Regions from separate parts of the Homo sapiens genome. Here all the other regions are linked to region 3. The links are contacts of gene promoters, found by promoter capture Hi-C in blood cells and fetal thymus (Javierre and others, 2016). All regions are on one chromosome and are shown on one strand. Each heading gives the region's core, a stretch centred on a gene start or on the middle of the fragment in contact. The rest is flanking DNA. Distances are from core to core; before and after follow the strand shown.

Region 1 (2,927 bases), core at 280-2,779, 410 kb before region 3:
TCCTGTCCCCAGGGGCATAAATGCTGCAGCACCGGCTGTGGCCGCACCTGCCTCGGAGACATTGAGGGAGGTATGTTGGCTCTTTTGGGAAGAAATCCTTGAGTGTTTCCTGAGAAGAGTGCTTCTCTTTCCCTTCCTGGGAGGAGCTAGGATTCTCATCCTTCCTGTCCCTCTGGTCCCCCAACCCAAAGCAACCCATTCTTCTAGGGCCGAGGGGCCCTGTCGACATTAAAAGAACTGGGGGAAGGCACTGTGGGGCAGTAGGAACTACTTGGGCTGGAAGACAGACAGTGTGGCTTTTGGTCTTGATTCTGCTGAGGTTTTGCTTTGTGACCTTAGGTAAGCAAACCCGTCTTTTTGAGCCCAAATTTCTTTATCTGTAAAATGAAGGAGTTGCCCAAGATCCTGATTTTCAGATCTAATTTTTAACAAAAAGCTTCTCCCCTGCCCCAAATGAAATCTTAGTTGGAAACACACACACACATATATATATATATATATATATATATTTTTTTTTTTTTTCTTTTTTTTCTTTTTTTTTTTTTTTGAGACAGAGTCTTGGTCTGTACCCCAGGCTAGAGTGTAGTGGCGTGATCTTGGCTCACTGAAACCTCTGCCTCTGGGGTTTCTTCTGCCTCAGCCTCCTGAGTAGCTGGGATTACAGGCACACGCCACCATGCCCAGCTAATTTTTGTATTTTTAGTAGAGATGGGTTTTCATCATGTTGACCAGGCTGGTCTTGAACTCCTGACCTCGTGATCTGCCTGTCTCGGCCTCCCAAAGTGCTGGAATTACAGGCGTGAGCCACCACGCCCAGCTGGAAACACACACACACACACACACACACACACACACACACACACACAGAGATAAAAGCATTCCTGTTCCAATGCCTTTTTTTCTTCAACATTTTAAAAAAACAAATATTTTTGAGTGCCAGGCACTGTGGATCTCCATTAAAGAATCATTGACCCTTGTGCTATCTTAGTCCCTTTAGATTCCCAGGCAGTGCTCAAGGCTGAGGACAGACTCTTGTCCGTATGTAGCTTATAGCCCATCAGGCAAGATAGACATATTCCTTTTAAATAAGGGATTATGATAAAGTTTGATGAGAGGAAGCATACAGGGTGCTACAGGAGCACAAAGCAGGGACATCAAACCTTGTCTAGGGTGGCAGAGGAGGCCACCGTGAAGAAGTGACACTATGAATCCAGAGCATAGGGGGAGGGGGAGTGGTCTGGGAGGCTTGCCCCTGCCACACTTCACCCACCCCCACCCCAAACCTGCAGAGGTGTCAATCCCTGAGTTACCTCTTGGGAACTCCCTTTGGGGCACCATTTGAAAACTCTGGGCTCAGAGGTCTCTTGGGTTCCTAAAGATTCTGAGATCCTCCAGCGCCATGGTTTCCCAGCCAGTTTAGTTGGGTCTAGTGAGGGTCAGGGGTTGATTGACCTAGAGCCTCTGTGTGTAAGTTCACGATGGGAACATGGAGATGGCAGAGCTGATGCCCTGTCCCTTTTCCTGTGCCTGTTGTTCCCACAGGGCGGGGCGGTGATTGTCCAAAAGTTCTGGTGGGCCTGTGCATTGTTGGCTGTGTGATGGATGAGAATTGTCAAGCTGGAGAAAAATGTTGCAAGTCAGGCTGTGGCCGCTTCTGTGTCCCACCAGTCCTGCCCCCAAAACTGACCATGAACCCCAACTGGACTGTGAGGTCTGATTCCGAATTAGGTGAGTACAGTCCATTGTCATCAACAATAACAGACAACTGCTATGTGCAAAGCACTGGCTTAGGTGCTGGGAAGGGGACTTCAGAAGGTCAGGAAAAGTCTAGTTGGAGAGAAAGAACCTATGTCCCAGATGAAAACCCTCATACAAACAGTACAGGCTTACACCTGTTCTCAGGTGTGGCAAACCTGTGTCCCAGATGAGAACCCTCATATAAACAGTACAGGCTTACACCTGTTCCCAGGTGTGGCTCCCTGGGAAGGTCTCTGTGGGAGAGGTGGGATTTGATTGAGGTGCTTAAGGCTAGGCAGATGCGACAAAGGGAGGATAGCACAGGGACATGCCAGATAGGCAATCTGGTGATTGCTGGCAAAGGAACACAGGGTGGGAATGTGTGGGATATGTTTGGGAGGTGAGGAGTGGGGGCAGGGTGGGTAAAGGAACAGACGTATCTCCAGTTTTTTTTTTTTTTTTTTTGAGATGGAGTTTCACTCTTGTCACCCAGGCTGGAGTGCAATGGCACAATCTCGACTCACTGCAACCTCTGCCTCCTGGATTCAAGCAATTCTCCTGCCTCAGCCTCCCAAGGCTGGGATTTACAGGCGCCTGCCATCATACCTAGCTGATTTTTGTATTTTTAGTAGAGACAGTGTTTCACCATGTTGGCCAGGTCTGGTCTCGAGCTCCTGATCTCAGGTTATCCACCCACCTTGGCCTCCCAAAGTGCTGGGATTACAGGCATGAGCCACTGTGCCCGACCATAATTCCAGTTTTTTATAACAGGAGATACAAGGTTGACATCTGAATAATAAGAGCCTTCAGTGCCAGTTTGGATTGGATTGTCTGGGAAGCAAGGAGCTATTTAAGACTTTTGAGAGCAATATAGGCCAAGCTTTCCTAGGGTGGAGGGAAAACATTTCAGGTAGCTGAAGCCAGGAGGGCACAGCTGTGACTTGATGTTTCTTCTACTTGCAGAGATCCCGGTGCCCTAGCTGTGCTGATTTGTCTGGAGCTTCTTTGGTAATTCTGGAAGCTTTTCCTGGCAGTCAAGAGAGGGTGACATCCTGGGGCTTGTGACATTTCCAGGGGCACTCATGGCCCTCTCTGCTCTGCTTCTCCTCCTGCCGCTGACCAGAGCATGGGAAATAGCCCTGGATTGGGTAGTGGGTGTGTGGTGCTTCTCTTTCCCGATAAAGGCTGGT
Region 2 (3,269 bases), core at 170-2,669, 450 kb before region 3:
GGTGCGCTCGGCTCACCGCAACCTCTGTCTCCACGGTTCAAATGATTCTTGTGCCTCAGCCTCCCGAGTAGCTGAAATTACAGGCATGCACCACCATGCCTGGATAATTTTTGTATTTTTAGTAGAGACAGGGTTTTGCAATGTTGGCCAGGCTGGTCTCGAACTCCTGACCTCAAGTGATCCGCCCACCTTAGCCCCCCAAAGTGTTGGGATTATAAGGTGTGAGCTACCGCGCCCAGCCTCCCCTTAATCTCATCACTCTGATCCAAAATAAAGCAACCAAATTCATAGGCTAGAAATACCAAGAAGGGCGGGGAGTTGGGTGTGGGTAAAGCTTGGTTGGGGCTAGGAAGTAGGGACACACTGGATAGGGAGGGTCTTGTATGACTTCAGGGAAGTGTTCGAGATAACTTCGTGTGGGGGGATGGAATTGGGAGGAGGGACTGCTGGAAGAAATGGTGTAGGTGGGGTGTATGAACTTCTTTCCCAGGAGGGAGCAAATTACATTACCCCTATGTCTAGCAAAAAAGCTGACGGAAAAAAGGAGGCTACTGAAAATTGGATGGAAGGCTGGGGTTCTGGGCACTTAATCACTCACCATGAGGGTCATCAGCTCCTGCTGTAGCCTGAAAAAAGAGTATTCGGGGTTACCTGGGAGTCTGGATGGGCCAGGCCTCCAGACGGTGCATCTTCTCCCACCTGAATCTCAGGGGGAGCCGTCATGGAGGCTCCCCACATCACCAAGGTCAGGCTCAGCTCAGGGTATACTCACCAGATCCACAGGACGATCCTAGCGAGTCCTCACCCTCCCTAATTCCAGACTCCCTCGGGATGATTCTGGCATGTTCTTAATTCCCCAGGCTTTAGCATCTCTTCCTTGCCCGACTCAACTTCTCCCTTCCCCTGTCTCGGCCAAGTCACGAGGGTCCTTGAGCGTCTTCATCTAGGCCCACCAGGGAAGGAGTCTGGCAGCGCCCCTACCCTCCCATTCTCCTTCGGGAGAGTCTCAAAGAGCGGTCTGAGCTCCTGGCCTGTCCCCCATCTCTCGAATCTCACCCGCGCAAGGAGGTGGGAGTCCCGGAAGTCTCCGCCCTCGACACCCATGCCCAGGGGAATGCCAGGCCCCGAGCTCCTGGTGTGTTCTCCTGCACCCGCAGATCTCCCGCTCCAGGAGGTGGCGGCGGGGGGTGGTCCTAGAAATCTTTGCTCTGGGTACCAATGCCTAGGGCATGGCAGGCCCGGCGAGTGGTAGGCCGCATCACTCACCTTTTGCCCACCGGACCCCGGGCGGCGCCCCCGCTCGGCTCAGCTCCTTTACGGGCGGCGGCGACGCTAGTGGCGGCTGGGTCGCGGTTTTGGGAAGCCATCCGGGCGGCGTTGGCAGAGAGACAGGAACTCGGAGAACACGACTGCAACTGCAGGACTGCGGGCCCGCCCGCCCGCGTTTGAATTGTAACCCTCTGGGGGCGTCGACCAATCAATGGCTCGCTTGGGTTTGATCCAGCCAATGAGACGCTCCGGAGCGCTCTATTGCTGCGCCACTGCTAGACCTACCCACTGGCGCACCGCTATTGGGCGGCAGAATCCCGCTTCTGACAACCGATTGGTAGATGATGCTGCCATTAACTAACGAATCCGTAGCGAATTGGTGGCCGTTGGAAAACGCTAACCATTAAAGGGCCAAGAAAACGTCCACGTGGGATGAACCCCTCCTTCTGGCTACACGTCTTACTCCGCGTGGGAACACTCGGCACGCCCAGCCTTGATCCAATTTCCCTCGGGCAGGGAGTGCCTCCAATCCTGCAGCACTGGTACCCTCCCACCATTATAATCGCCTGGGCACCTTTGCTGCGTCCTAAGTATCTGAAAATCCCAGCGAGGGGAAAAACTAAAGGCTGATGGCCAGAGCAGCAGGCTCCCTATTAGAAAACATAGGTCCATACATCTCCGCAGAGATGACAGAAATAAAAAAAGGCAACATTGGTTCAGGCTGGTCGCAGTGGCTCACGTCCGTAATCCCGAACACTTTGGAAGGCCCAGGCAGGAGGATCACTTGAACCCAGGAGTTCGAGACCAGCCTGAGCAACAGGATAGGGAGACCTGTCTCTACTTAAAAGAAAAAAAAAAAAAAAGAAAAGAAAAAAAAAAAAGGCTGGTGAGGTGGCACGAGCCTGTAGTCCCAGCTACTGGCGAGGCTGAGGCGGGAGAATCGCTTGAGCCAGAGGCTGCACTCTAGCCTGGGCAACAGAGCAAGACTGTCTTCAAACAAACAAAAACCCCAACAACACAGGTTCATATCCTGTATATCCTACCTCCCCAGTGGGTAGTGTGTAACCTTGGGGCGGGTCCTTTAGTATCTTAACCTGTAAAATGGGAGCAATAAAAGCCAACTCTATTTTTCATATGATCTGTCATCAAACTCCATCGCATTCTGCCATGTCCTTACATTAGCTGGGTAAGGAAACTACAAATGGGCAAAGGGAAGACGGGCAGGGTACATGGTGCTCCCAGGTTGGTCTTATCAAGCCTGGCTCTATACTGTTATGGGTGAGGGTTATCTCGTCCTTTTTTCCTACACCCACTTCTAGAGCCCTTGATGTTCTGTCAATTCCCACAAGGTAGAGGGCACAGCAGGTTCACCATCTGTGTTTACTACAAACTGTTTAATTGTTTCTTATCCCAATAACTTTACAAATATAGAACCACATGCTAGTCTGGGGGTGCTGTGCAGTGAGTCACTACAAACTCGCTCAGGCACAGCTTAATGCCGCTGAGATCCATCTAGGAGCAGTCCCAGCGGTGGCCTCAGCCACGTGAGGAAGAGGGCTTTGGAGGAGGGCTGCCAAGTGTGGCCAGGGGACCCGGCCTCAGGTCTGTGGAGGTGCTTCAACAGCACGATGCTCATTCTCTGTCCGTAGTGTCTCCATATACTTTCTCATCTTCTCCACCATCCAGGAGGGTAGGACAAAGGATTTCAATTCCTCTAGCTTCAGATCCAGGCATCCTCTGGAACAGACATTGAAGAGAGAAGTTGGGGGAAGTGAGGATGTAGGCCCTGCCTCATTCTAGGGGCTATTTGGAGGCAGGGAGAGGAGAAGGGGCAGGAGACCCACTGGTTTTACCTGTAATCATCACTGGCCGCAAGGTCCCGGATGTCCTCCTCGATGAGGAGGTAGGCCTGAGGCAGGAGCAAGGGAGAGTGGTCATTGCCTGATTCATTTCACTCCAACTCAGTAACACTTCATTAAACATCTGTTTAATGTAAGGCC
Region 3 (2,893 bases), core at 333-2,832:
GCACTTTGGGAGGCCGAGGCAGGCGGATCACGAGGTCAGGAGATCGAGACCATCCCGGCTAAAACGGTGAAACCCCGTCTCTACTAAAAATACAAAAAATTAGCCGGGCGTAGTGGCGGGCGCCTGTAGTCCCAGCTACTTGGGAGGCTGAGGCAGGAGAATGGCGTGAACCCGGGAGGCGGAGCTTGCAGTGAGCCGAGATCCTGCCACTGCACTCCAGCCTGGGCGACAGAGGGAGACTCCGTCTCAAAAAAAAAAAAAAAAAAAAAAAAGAACTGTGCTCATCACCACGCCACAGCTGCCTCTTAGATGTAACAACTTATAGGCCTCCTTTACACTTTACAAAGTACCTTCTTATTCCTAAACCCCTCTGGGCCTTGTAACATTTTGTTGAGGGCAACATGGTAGGAGCATCCGGCCCACTTTTCAGAAAAGGCTCAGAAAGGGGAAGCAACTTGCCCAAGGTCCCACAGCTAGTTTTATATGTTTAGGCCTAGACTGAACCCTTGCTTTTCTGAACCCAAAGCACATGCTCTTTATATTGCAGTCCACGACCTCTCTGCAACTAGTCTCATGGTTTTGAAGACAGGAAAACAAGTTCACAGAGGTGACATTTGCCCCAGGTCACACAGCTAGTAAGTGGATCTTAAACGGACGCCTGTCTGACCCCAAAGTCCAGGCAGTTTCCACTGTACCCGCACGAATGCTCTTTTATCCACCCCTCTCTCCGATGTGGCACCTGAGAACCTAGCTCAGAGAAATCAAGTCACTTTCCCAGAGTATCAGAAAGGAAATGTATCAGAGTTGCCTGGAACACAGACGTGTTTATTGTATTAACATCCAGGCCCTTTTCTTTGTACTAATCAGCCTCTGCTGTCATTCCATTTTATGGATGAGGCAGCTGAGGCTCAGAAAGGTGAAATCCCTTTCCCAGGGCTACAAAGAAAGAAGGTGACCCAGCCACGTCTACAGCACAGTAGTGATGGACCACAAAGCCTACTCGGGGAGGCCGAGACCCCACCCGCCCCAGTCCGGGGACCCTACCTCGGCGTCGAACATCTGGTCCAGCGAGGGGCTGCTTCGCACTAGCCCGTCCACCAGCGCCAGCCACAGGCCCAGCGAGCCGTAATACACGGTCTGCATGAGGACGATCTGCGACAGGATCAGCAGCGGGTCCCACACGTAGCTGCGGAACTGACCCGCCATGCCCTGCAGGGACACGAGCCGGGCCTCAGCCAGCGGCCTGTCTCCATGGCAACGTCGCCCCGCCCGGGAGGAGGGACTGGAACCAAGGGGTGAGCCCATTCCAAGAGTCAGGGGGAAGGCGGGGCAGACAGACCCATTCTCAGAGTGAGGGGAAATCCAGCCCATTCCGCCTGCGCGGCCCCCGCCCGTACACGAGCTCCTCTGGGGTCTACTCACCAGTGACAGACTCGACGATCGAAGTGTCTGAGCGTGGCCCGGCCTCACCGGCGGGCTCCCAAAACAGCGCTGACAGACAGGACCATGGAGGAGAGGCGCTGCCGGCCTAGAGAGGCAAAGCTCCAGCGACCACGGCGGCAGGAGCGGCTGCGTAGGAAAGAAACGTTTCCGGGGAAAGCAGCGGAGGGGCGGGGCTGAGGTTGCGCAGGCGTAGTGGGTGCAACCTCTGCCTGAACCTCCTGAACCAGGTACAAGCAGCCGGATAGCGAACTGAGCACATGCGCAGAAGGAAGAGTGAAGGCAAACGGAAGAGAGGAACGAAGGCCGCAGAGCTTGCGCGCCCTCTAGAGGGGAATTCTTTTTTTAAAGGAAGGCGGCTAGGGGAGAGGCAAGTGGGGTGGCTTAGGACGCGGTAATGATGTTTGGGAATTAACGAGGTGATAAACTGTGTCGTTATTTTCAGCCTAAATTCTCAATGTTTTCTCCTAGTTAGAGTCTGATAACTTGAAGTGGACCTGCAAGCTCCTCCACGTAGGAGTTTGCCAATGTTCCCGCTGTACAGATAGTTAAGCTAAGGGCCAGAGAAGGAAAGCAACATACTGTTTCAACGACACAGTTAGTAGCAAAGTAAGTATTAAAATTCAAGTGTTGGTCGGGCGCGGTGGCTCACGCCTGTAATCCCAGCACTTTGGGAGGCTGAGGTGGGCGGATTACCTGAGGTCGGTGTTTCGAGACCAGCCTGACCAACATGGAGAAACCCCGTCTCTGCTAAAAATACAAAATTAGCGGGGCGTGGTGGCGCACGCCTGTAGTCCTAGCTACTCGGGAGGCTGAGCCAGGAGAATTGCTTGAACCCGGGAGGCAGAGGTTGCAGTGAGCCGAGATCACGCCATTGCACTCCAGCCTGGGCAACAAGAGCAAAACTCCGTCTCTAAATAAATAAATAAATAAATAAATAAATAAATAAAATTCAAGTGTTTCCTCAACACTACAACATTGATTTCGCACCTACTCGGTGGCAGGAAGGCTAGAACATGTATATATAAGACAGCCCCTGCCCTGAGACACAGATGAACTATATTAGAAGGCAGAGTAGTGGGTGTTTTAAAATGTGGGTGTCCAGTGGAAAAAGGCACAGGTTCTGAAGTCGCACATAGGAGTAAATCCTGACCCTCTCTGCTGCCATGACTGTTTTATCTATCTTCCAAATCCGAATAGTGGACAGTCAGTAAATATTTGCTGAATGAGTTAAGAACAGAAAAAGCAAGAGCAAATCGATAACTCACTTATTCCTACTCCAGCAGACGAAAACCCATCAACTTCATTGATCCTAGGTTCCCCCTCTCTGAAGTGGAAAGACGGGAAGTAAGTTGTTCCAGGAAAAGAATTTGGGTTTTAGGGCCAGCTATGCCACCCAGTGTGACCAGCAAGCCACTTCCTTCTTTAAACCTCAGCTTCCCTGTTTATGAAA

The links. Contacts are between HindIII fragments. The CHiCAGO score rates a contact against its expected background, and 5 or more counts as called.
Region 1: a contact is called between a fragment that was not itself captured here and the fragment with the promoter of SYS1 in region 3, in 6 of 17 cell types (M0 macrophages, M1 macrophages, M2 macrophages and 3 more). The highest score is 6.8, in M0 macrophages.
Region 2: the fragment with the promoter of UBE2C here is called in contact with the fragment with the promoter of SYS1 in region 3 in 1 of 17 cell types (naive CD8 T cells); the score reaches 5.1 in naive CD8 T cells.

What each region holds. Positions count from the first base shown.
Region 1 is chr20:45,774,218-45,777,144 of GRCh38, reverse strand. WFDC3 (WAP four-disulfide core domain 3) reads left to right here. Exons shown (of 7, transcript NM_080614.2): 5 at 1-70; 6 at 1,543-1,728; 7 at 2,701-2,927. The coding sequence ends at 2,717. Among named protein-coding and RNA genes, the nearest start is that of WFDC3, 16 kb to the left of the region's middle. RefSeq lists an enhancer at 1,399-1,568. The HindIII fragment of the contact is 2,181 bases long and covers 439-2,619 here.
Region 2 is chr20:45,810,794-45,814,062 of GRCh38, reverse strand. It overlaps UBE2C (ubiquitin conjugating enzyme E2 C), which reads right to left and starts at 1,419. Exons shown (of 6, transcript NM_007019.4): 1 at 1,267-1,419; 2 at 599-626. The coding sequence starts at 1,367. DNTTIP1 (deoxynucleotidyltransferase terminal interacting protein 1) reads right to left here. Exons shown (of 13, transcript NM_052951.3): 12 at 3,123-3,178; 13 at 2,645-3,006. The coding sequence ends at 2,868. RefSeq lists a silencer at 1,427-1,616. The HindIII fragment of the contact is 3,801 bases long and covers 337-3,269 here.
Region 3 is chr20:45,361,845-45,364,737 of GRCh38, reverse strand. SYS1 (SYS1 golgi trafficking protein) reads right to left here and starts at 1,582. Exons shown (of 4, transcript NM_033542.4): 1 at 1,423-1,582; 2 at 1,045-1,209. The coding sequence starts at 1,206. SYS1-DBNDD2 (SYS1-DBNDD2 readthrough (NMD candidate)) reads right to left here and starts at 1,569. Exons shown (of 6, transcript NR_003189.2): 1 at 1,423-1,569; 2 at 1,045-1,209. LOC124904914 (a long non-coding RNA gene) reads left to right here and starts at 1,370. Exons shown (of 2, transcript XR_007067609.1): 1 at 1,370-1,670; 2 at 1,912-2,382. RefSeq lists an enhancer at 1,413-1,852. The HindIII fragment of the contact is 10,354 bases long and covers 1-2,893 here.